2 separate regions of the Homo sapiens genome follow, and region 1 is linked to region 2. Evidence: promoter capture Hi-C in 16 types of primary human blood cells and fetal thymus (Javierre and others, 2016). All regions are on one chromosome and are shown on one strand. Each heading gives the region's core, a stretch centred on a gene start or on the middle of the fragment in contact. The rest is flanking DNA. Distances are from core to core; before and after follow the strand shown. Region 1 has its middle 30 kb from the start of UTP14A. Region 2 holds the start of APLN (apelin).

The links. Contacts are between HindIII fragments. The CHiCAGO score rates a contact against its expected background, and 5 or more counts as called.
Region 1: a fragment that was not itself captured here is called in contact with the fragment with the promoter of APLN in region 2 in 9 of 17 cell types (non-activated CD4 T cells, activated CD4 T cells, naive CD4 T cells and 6 more); the score reaches 11.9 in non-activated CD4 T cells.

What each region holds. Positions count from the first base shown.
Region 1 is chrX:129,873,442-129,877,896 of GRCh38, reverse strand. It overlaps the pseudogene SALL4P2. Among named protein-coding and RNA genes, the nearest start is that of UTP14A, 30 kb to the left of the region's middle. The HindIII fragment of the contact is 1,769 bases long and covers 757-2,525 here.
Region 2 is chrX:129,653,191-129,657,721 of GRCh38, reverse strand. APLN (apelin) reads left to right here and starts at 2,766. Exons shown (of 3, transcript NM_017413.5): 1 at 2,766-3,158. The coding sequence starts at 3,092. RefSeq lists enhancers at 1,583-1,642, 1,653-1,742, 3,435-3,494 and silencers at 2,925-3,004, 3,095-3,144. The HindIII fragment of the contact is 20,761 bases long and covers 1-4,531 here.

The DNA.
Region 1 (4,455 bases), core at 392-2,891, 220 kb before region 2:
TTATACAAATAAAAAATAATAAAAGAATAAAAAGCACAGTCTAGACTAGGGGTGTCCAATCTTTTGGCTTCCCTGGGCCACCTTGGAAGAAGAATTGTCTTGGGCCACACATAAAATACACGAATACTAACAATAGCCGATGAGCTTAAAAAAAAAATCACAAAAAAATCTCAGAATGTTTTAAGAAACTTCACGAATTTGTGTTGGGCCACATTCAAAGCCGCCCTGGGCTGCATGTGGCCTGCGGGCTGAGGGTTGAACAAGCATGGTCTAGACATTTCACTCTGTCTACATTTCTTCTTCCAGGCAAGTTCCCCTTTAGCTTAGCTGACCACAATCTTGTTTTCTTCCAGGAAGTGAGGGAACCAATGTGTGGGAACAGTCTCAGTAGCACCTGGTTTTTCCACATTGGCACTGATACCTGACTGGGAGCCATCCATCTTGGACTCAGCAGTGTTATTCACAGCAGAGTTGGCCCCCACAGAAACTGGGAGGGTGGGAACACCACCACTCTGGGTCATAGAGATCTCGCTAGTCTTCATGGCAAGACCACTGTTGAGCATGTTGGTATATTGGTTCCACCACCTTCACTGAAGGGGCCAGGATTTCCAGTAAACATTTCTGAGATTCTTTCCATTCATACCTAATTAAGCCATAGTGTTCTCAATGGCTAGCTTCCTTCTCTGGTGTGCTGAGTTATTGTTTGCTCCATGAGTCATACAGTGGACCTTCAAGTTGCCTTTGGTGGTAAAAGCTTGCCCATGTATGCTGCACACAAAAGGCTATTCTCTAGTGTGAGTCCACTTGTGAATCTGAAGAGCACTAGTGGATAAGAAGTTCTTCTCACACTGTGTGCAGCTGTGTTGCTTGGCCTGTCAGTGTGGCTGGGCCGCTAACACCAGGGACATGATTGAGGATCCAACAAATGTGCCAGTGAAAGGGGAGAGTTCCCTGGCCCCCCTCACAGGACGTGTGATGGGTGTGGCTTGTCTGTTTGGTCGCTGCTCAAACCTCTTACAGGAGGGGGAGTACACAGACAGACAGGTGCAGGAGCCCAAGTGGGCGTGTGTTACAGTGCACTCTTTTAGCCTTGCCATCTGCAGATGGCTTAAGTGTTAATCAGCTCAGTGGACCCTCTGCCTTTCTGCAAAGGCAGAGGGCCAGTGTGACAGTTTTCTGTATCCTGAGCTGTTGTCCAGAATCCTGGAAGAATCAGGTCACACATGGACTTGAAGGATGGAGAATGCAGGGTTTTATTGGGTGGTGGAGGTGGCTCTCAGTGGGATAGATGAGGAGCTGGACAGGGGATGGAGTGGGAAGATGATCTTCCCTTGCAGTTTGGCCATCTGGTGGCTGATTCTCTGACCACCCCCAGCAAAACTCCTGACGTTTCTTCTCTTCTCTCCTGTGCCGTGCCATTCTGCCATTTGTCTGCTCATCTCCTCATCTCCTGCTTCTGGAGCCTCGGGTTTGGGGTTTATATGGGTACAGGATGGGGGCGTGATGGGCCAAAAGGCAACATTTTCGGCACAAAAACAGGAATGCCTGTTCTCACTTAGGGCTGTGGATATCCAGGCTTGAGGGTGGGGCCTTTGCTGGGGAACTGCCCTCTTCTGTCCAGTATTTCCCTGTCTCCTATTTGTATTACCAGGAACTTCAACTTTTCATTTTTATTTTTTAGAGACAGGGTCTCTCCTTTTCGCACAGGCTGGAGTGCAGTGGCACAGTCATAGTTTACCACAACCTTGAACTCCTGGGCTCAAGTGATCCTCCTGCCCCAGCCTCATTAGTAGCTGGAATTACAAGCGCTAGCCACCAAACCTGTTAAAACTTGAACTTTGACATATGTTGACTGGGCTCAGAAAAACGTTGATGGGAGACAGCCCATCTCAGTGTGGCTGTTCTTGGGGTGCTCAGCTTTGCTCCCAGCATCTGGAGACTTTGTCATAATGCTTTCTGCTTGGCTAGTTGCTAGGGAGCGTGCCTGGAAGGATGTGGTTTCCACAGCATCTGGAGTTTGGCTAATAGTCCTGGTGTCCCATCAGTGAGAATGAGTCATTAAACTGTTGCTCTCCACTGAATCGTTTTTCAGCTGCTCTGCCTCTGCAGGCCAGAAGGAACAGGACCCACTTTCCTGGTGACTGCTAGGGAAGCCTTTGTGGCAAACCCTAGGGTGGGTTATATTAAGTGGATGCTAAGAAGAGGTGTGAGGACCTTTGAGTAGCTACTGGGGGCATCCTGGGAGCTGACTTTATCCACAGTGGTGTCTTCTTTCAACATCATCATGGCAGATGGCACTTGTATTACCATTCTCACTGACCATCATTGGCTCAGGACCCCTAAAATCACAGGGATTCTCTGGCGGGGACATGCTGGGAATCTGAGTGCCCATGTTCATCCAAATATGTTGTTGCAACATGACCACACTGGCAAATTTCTTTTGACTAATGGGGTATGTACTTATGGATGAGTTGGTTCCATGAACCCTGAGAAGTGTCTTTACGTTGCCTTTGGTAGAAAAAGCTTGTCCACAGATTTCACATAGGATGGGTCTCTCCCCAATGTGGGTGTGGTAATGTATGATTTTTTTCCAAGTGAGAGCAAATTTATTAAAGTAAAGGAATAAAAGAATGGCTACTCCATAGGCAGAGCAGCCCTGAGGGCTGCTGGTTGGCTATTTTTGTGGTTATTTCTTGACTACATGCTAAACAAGTGGCGGGTTTTTCATGAGTTTTCCGGGAAAGTGGTGGGCAACTCCTGGAACGGACGGTTCCTCCACCTTTTAGACCATAAATGGTAACTTCCTGACATTGCCTTGGCATTTGTAAACTGTCATGGTGCTGGTGGGAGTGTCTTTTAGCATACTAATGTATTATAATTAGCATATAATGAGCAGTGAGGATGACCAGAGGTTACTTTCCTCACCATCTTCGTTTGGGTGGGATTTGGTCTGCTTCTTTACCACATGTTGTTTTATCAGCAAGGTCTTTGTGACCTGTATCTTGTGCCAACCTCCTATCTCATCCTGTGACTTAGAATGCTTAACCTCCTGGGAATGCAGCCCAGTAGGTCTCAGCCTCATTTTACCCAGCCCCTATTCAGGATGGAGGCACTCTGGTTTGAACACCTCTGACATATTTCTCCCCTGCGTTTTACAAAGGAATCCTTAATCTTTTATTATTATTATTATTTTATTTATTTATTTATTTATTTTTTTGAGATGGAGGCTTGCTCTGTCACCCAGGCTGGAGTGCAGTGGCGCGATCTTGGCCCTCTGCAACCTTCCCCTCCCGAGTTCAAGCGATTCTCCTGCCTCAGCCTGCCAGGTAGCTGGGACTACAGGTGCGTGCCACCATGCCTGGCTAATTTTTGTATTTTTAGTAGAGATGGGGTTTTGCCATGTTGGCCAGGCTGGTGTCAAACTCGTGACCTCAGGTGATTCACCCGCCTCGGCCTCCGAAAGTGCTGGGATTACAGGTGTGAGCCTCCGCATCTGGCCAGGAACCCTTAATCTTAAGGGTTATAGAGGGACAAAGATCCATCTTCCGTAACTTCTTCAGGCTGAATTGGGCAATGATACTCCTGCCTACCTATTAGGGTCTCTTGTATTCAGGGTAGAGAGGAGCTCAGTCAGAAAGTGTAAGTATGGTGAGGGCCATCCATAACTCTTGAGTTCTGACAAAAGCTGATATCTGTAGTAAGTATTCAATTTAAGAAAATGTTGAGTAAGCTTATCCTGCATTCCTACACAAAGAGTACAGCAGCAATATTTTCCACAACAGTAAAACAAAGTAAGTAAAATTATTCCAAGTGAACTGAATAAGAAAGCTTTCCACGAACTGGGCAATTGTTGAAACCAAGCTGATATGGTGTCGCTAGCTGATTCTAATATGTGCCCAGAATTAGAATACTGACCCAGATTTTTACATTACCCATCCCTCTTGTTTCTTCTGAGCAGCAGCCAGAGATCACTGGTTGGTTCACAGGAATAAGCACGGTTAGTCTAAATTGCAGGAAAAAAAACCCTTAAAAACAACGAATGAGACTATAATTTAATAACAGGCGTACCATCGTTCTTGAAACAATTTTTCTCTCTCCAGTCTCCCATTTTTACTAAAGACAAATCATGGTAAGACTGATTTGCTTTATTATACTTGGCCTGATTATGTGTATAAAGTGCAGCAATAATAATAATAATTGTTAGATTTTTTTTTTCTTGAGATGGAGTCTCACTGTGTCGCCTAGGCTGGAGTGCAGTGGCATGATCTTGGCTCACTGCAACCTTCACCTCCTGAGTTCAAGCGATTCTCATGCCTCAACCTTCCAAGTAGCTGGGATTACAGGCACACGCTGCCATGCCCAGCTAATTTTTCTATTTTTAGTAGAGACAGGGTCTCACCATACCAGCCTGGCTGGTCTTGAACTCCTGACCTCAAGTGATCCGCCTGCCTTGAC
Region 2 (4,531 bases), core at 1,517-4,016:
ACCCTGCCTCTAAAAAAAAATGGATGTAATTTGGTTAAATGAAGAGAAGGATTCAATTAAAAAATGATTCTCCCAAGTGTCAGATCTTTAAATCTTACTCTAAACGCATGCCTTCAGCTTGGCTTGAATTTCTATTGGTTTGCTTTTATGCTTTTTTTCCCCTCACCTTGTACATTTTGAAGGCTAGGTAGGGTGGGAAAATGGATTATAGAAAAAAGAAGAATGAATGAATGCTCTAACCAATAGAACTTTCTGCAGTGATTGAAGATTCTATTCTGTGCTGTCCAATACAGTAGCCACTAGCCACATATAGGCAATTGAAGCGTGGCCAGTGGAACTGAGGAACTGAATTTTAAACTTCATTGGAAATATGATTAGTGGCTATTGTATTAGAAAGCGCTATGTGTTCCAACCACTTAGCAATATGCCATACACACCCTAGTAAAGGTGCAATTAAATATGAAGGCTTCTATTAACCTAGTTATGGGGGACACTTATTTGGGTGTGCATGGGCTTGCCCAATCAAGGATTGGAGCACCAAGTTTCCTAAAAACAACCCTGCAAGAGCTTATTCTTAATTTGCACGGTACCTTCAGGCACATTATCTCACTTAATCCCATAACAACTTTGAAGTGGGTAGAGCAGAGATTATCACCTCCATGAACCCCAGTAAGTTTAGGTGATGATGGCAAGGCCCTACAGCAAATGAGGGTGGAGACTAGAAGCCAGGTGTTTCTCCTCCTGGTTAGAAAATGCTTTCCATCCAGGCGTGGTGGCTAACGCCTGTAATCCCAACACTTTGGGAGGCCGAGGCGGGTGGATCATCTGAGGTCAGGAGTTCGAGACCAGCCTGACCAACCTGGTGAAACCCCGTCTCTACTAAAAATACAAAATTAGTCGGGCATGGTGGCGCATGCCTGTAATCCCAGCTACTCAGGAGGCTGAGGCAGGAGAATCGCTTGAACCTGGGAGGCGGAGGTTGCAGTGAGCTGAGATAGGGTATTGCACTCCAGCTTGAGCGACAGAGCAAAACTCGGTCTCAAAAAAAAAAAAAAAAAAAAGAAGAAAGAAAGAAAAAAGAAAAAAAGAAAAAGAAAAGAGAAAGAAAGCAAACTCTTTCCAGGGGAACAGTGAAGGGAGAATGGTCTCCTGCTACCCATGTCTGCTACTCATATCCTGGGTCTCAAGGATGAAGAGGGGTGCCATGCTTCACATGCTTTTTTTTTTTACTTGAGTGTGGTTAATGGGCCATAGGCTATTAATGAGAACCTTATCTTATTCCCTTCCTGCTACCTGAATTTAGGCAGTAAAGATGTTTTTGAAAATTTCATTTATATATTCAAAATTATGTATTGAGTACCAGTCATGTCGCAGGTACTGTTCTAGGTCTGGGGACACAGCTGTGAACAAAGCAAAGATCCCTCCCTTGTGGAGGTAACCCTTCTGGTGGAGAGAGACTGATAATAAATACATTGTGTATATATAGGATTTTTGCAACATTTCAAAGATATTTTAAATATGCCATGGTCTCTCATGTCTTTTATGGCACACACGCACCCTGTCCAATGTATCTTTTGTGTAAATCTGGACTTAACACTTCAAGCAAACTGCCTGGCTTGCTGAAAGGTGGAGACACCTTTCGATTCAGTCTTTTAATATGTGTTGAGTGCCACCTATGTGCAGAGCAAGATATTGGGGACTTTGGAGAGATCCAGAAGAGTGAGAAGACAGTATCCTACCTTAGGGGGTTCCCAGTCCAATGAGGGAAGCAGCCCCATGCCTTGGGAGCTCCCAAGCTATAGAAGCAGCTAACAATCGAGTCTGGAAAGGCAAACAACTTCAGGACCCGCTTCTAAAGCGGAATCGCAAGTACACGCAAAATGAATCCAGCCTTGACTGTGTGGAGTTGGGTAAACCACCTGCCTCTTACGTTGATGGGGAACTAGAATGAGGACAGCTCCAGGGAACAAGAAAGGGTAGACCATAGGAGCTGTCCCATGTCCCAACAGTGGGGAGGAGCTGATGGGCGGCCCCTGCTGGATTAGTGTTATCCTGAGAAGGCTTCTGGATGCGATGGGATTTGAGGTGCTGCTGCAAAGAATGAATTGCTCACGGAAGGGTGGGGTGGGGGCATTCCAGGTAGAGGGTGCCTCCTGGGGGATGCAGGGAACATGAGGGGCCTGGGCAATTAATCAAGCCTTGGGCACAAGCCTAGGCAGTCACCCCCAATTCAAAGCCAGTTGAAAATGCAGAGGAGAGAGGAGGGCCAGTGTTTGGTTGTCTTGACCAAACCCTTGAAGCTGGCCAGCGGCAAGGGCAAGGACCAGGGTCAGAGGTAGAGGGCGTGAGTGAAGGCAACCCAGACTGAGTCCTTCCCTAAGCGCCCAGGTTTCCTGACAGCTGTTAAGGAAGCAAGGTGAGAAAGGGTTAAGTGTGCCCCTCCACCGCCCCAAATGCTTCCTGTGTTTGAAATCCTTCAGGTCTCTGCAAACCCTCTGGCCCCCGGCCAGGCGGGCATTGTCCGGGGAGCGGTTGTAGGTTGTCAGAGAGGCCGCGCAGCCTTTGTTGTGGGGCCACCTCGGGGTTCCCTCTCGCGCTCACGCTCGGGCTGGGGCTGCAGAGTGCGTGCCTGGAGGGGGGCGGTGCGGGAGGCTCGCTCCCTCTCCCTCTTCCTGCCCCCCCTCTAGCCCTCCCGATGACCACATGACCAAGTGGGCTCGCGGCCAAGCCACAAGCTACAAAATGCAGCCCCTGGAGTGAGCGGGGAGCATTCTCTCTGGCAGCCGGGGTCACGGGCAGTTGCAGCCGCGGCCGAGCAGCCAGCCGCTAAGAAAGAGCTCGCCGCTGCCGCTCCCGGAGCCGCCGAGGCCAGCTTCGCGGCGCTGCCCCGCGGCGGGAGAGGAGGCTGCAGAAGAGCGGAGGCGGCCAGCGGGAGCGGCGGGGCTCAGCGCGCACACTCAGCGGCCGGGGAGCCTCCCGAGCTCTGCGCCCGCACGCGCCAGCCGCGGCTCGCGCCTTTCTTGGCCTCCGGGCGCCCGACCTCTCCTCCCCCGCGCCGGCTCGCCGGGGCCGCGGCGGCCCAAGGAGCAGCATGAATCTGCGGCTCTGCGTGCAGGCGCTCCTGCTGCTCTGGCTCTCCTTGACCGCGGTGTGTGGAGGTGAGTGCGCGCCCTCCCGCTCGCCCGGGCTGCAGCCGGCGTGCTCCTTTCCCTCCGCCCTATTCGCACTCTCCCCGCCTCCCGGGGAGCCCGGCGCGAGCCGTGCAGTAGCAGCCACGCGCCGGCCAGCGCCAGGCAGCAGATTGACAGAGCGCCCCGAGCCATGGGGCGGCTGGCCACAAGGACTGCTTCTTTTGCGGGGCTCAACTCGGCCTTTGGCATCACCTGCCCGTCACCTTGTCCCTCCTAACCGTCGCTCGCAGTCCCAGGAGCTCAGGACCACAGGTGTGCGCCGCGTGTCCCACGCCCTGCACCCCGCGTGGTAGAGGTGGAGGCGGGGGACATGCCCGCTCCCTCGTGGATCGATGGAAGGAACTGACCAGAGTCGAGTGGGCTGGGCTCCCATGTTGAACGTCTTCTGGTCCCTGAAGGCTGGGAGCCTCCCGCCAGTCCAGGGGCGCGGGAAACCGGGGATGATGTGCCAACATGCAGACGTGACACTTGTTGCATAGGCAGGAGTGCGCGGAGGGGGTGGCGGCATGGAGCCCAGCTGTTGCTCCTTTCGGCCTGCATGTGTGAGCAGAGGCAGCCTCCCCCAGGCAGGGCCGGGCCCAGCCGGGCTGGGCTGGTCTTCTCCTCCCTAACCCCAAGGTCCTGGCTGGTCTCCTCCCCTGCACAGGATGCCCTCCCCATAGCCTCCATCCCACCCCCAGAGACTTGGTTCTCTTACATCCTGGCTCCAGCCTTCCTTTCTGTCCCAGGCACGGACATGCTTCACTTTAGTCTCCCTGCCGCTAGGCACCAAAGGAGGAAGCACAGCACCTGACCCGACCCCTCCCTGCAGCTCAGGAAAGGGGAGTCCTTTTGCCCTCACCTGCCAATACTTGGCACTAGTGCCCATGTCCGCCCCTAGCCTGGTCCCCAACCACGCCCCAGCAGCCCCATCCCAGGCTGCCTGTCCTCTGTGTCAATGTCTCCTGGGGCTGCCAGCTCCCACCTCCAGCTGCCACAGTCCTATGATCTGGCTGTCATTGCTGCCTGCCTGGCACCACACAAGGGGAAGGCCAAGACCAGGTGGACTAACGCCAGGACCATGGCTGGAGTCACAGGGAGGTGGGAGCAGAAAGAAGGAGAAGGCAGGGCAGTGAGTTTCCTGGGGCAAGGGCACAGGGCCCTAAGTGGTTCCAAACCCTCCAGAACAGGAGGATGGCATGCAGCCCAGGAGCCTCCGAGGGGCCCAGCCAGCTCTGCCTGCCTCTCATCGCAGGCCACCTCCTTTCTCTGCTCTTGCTTTTTGGCCCTGCTGTGGCTCTGGGAACACTGCCTGGCTTCTCAGAAAGGTGCAGTGGTTGGGGCTGGCACCTCCTGCCTCC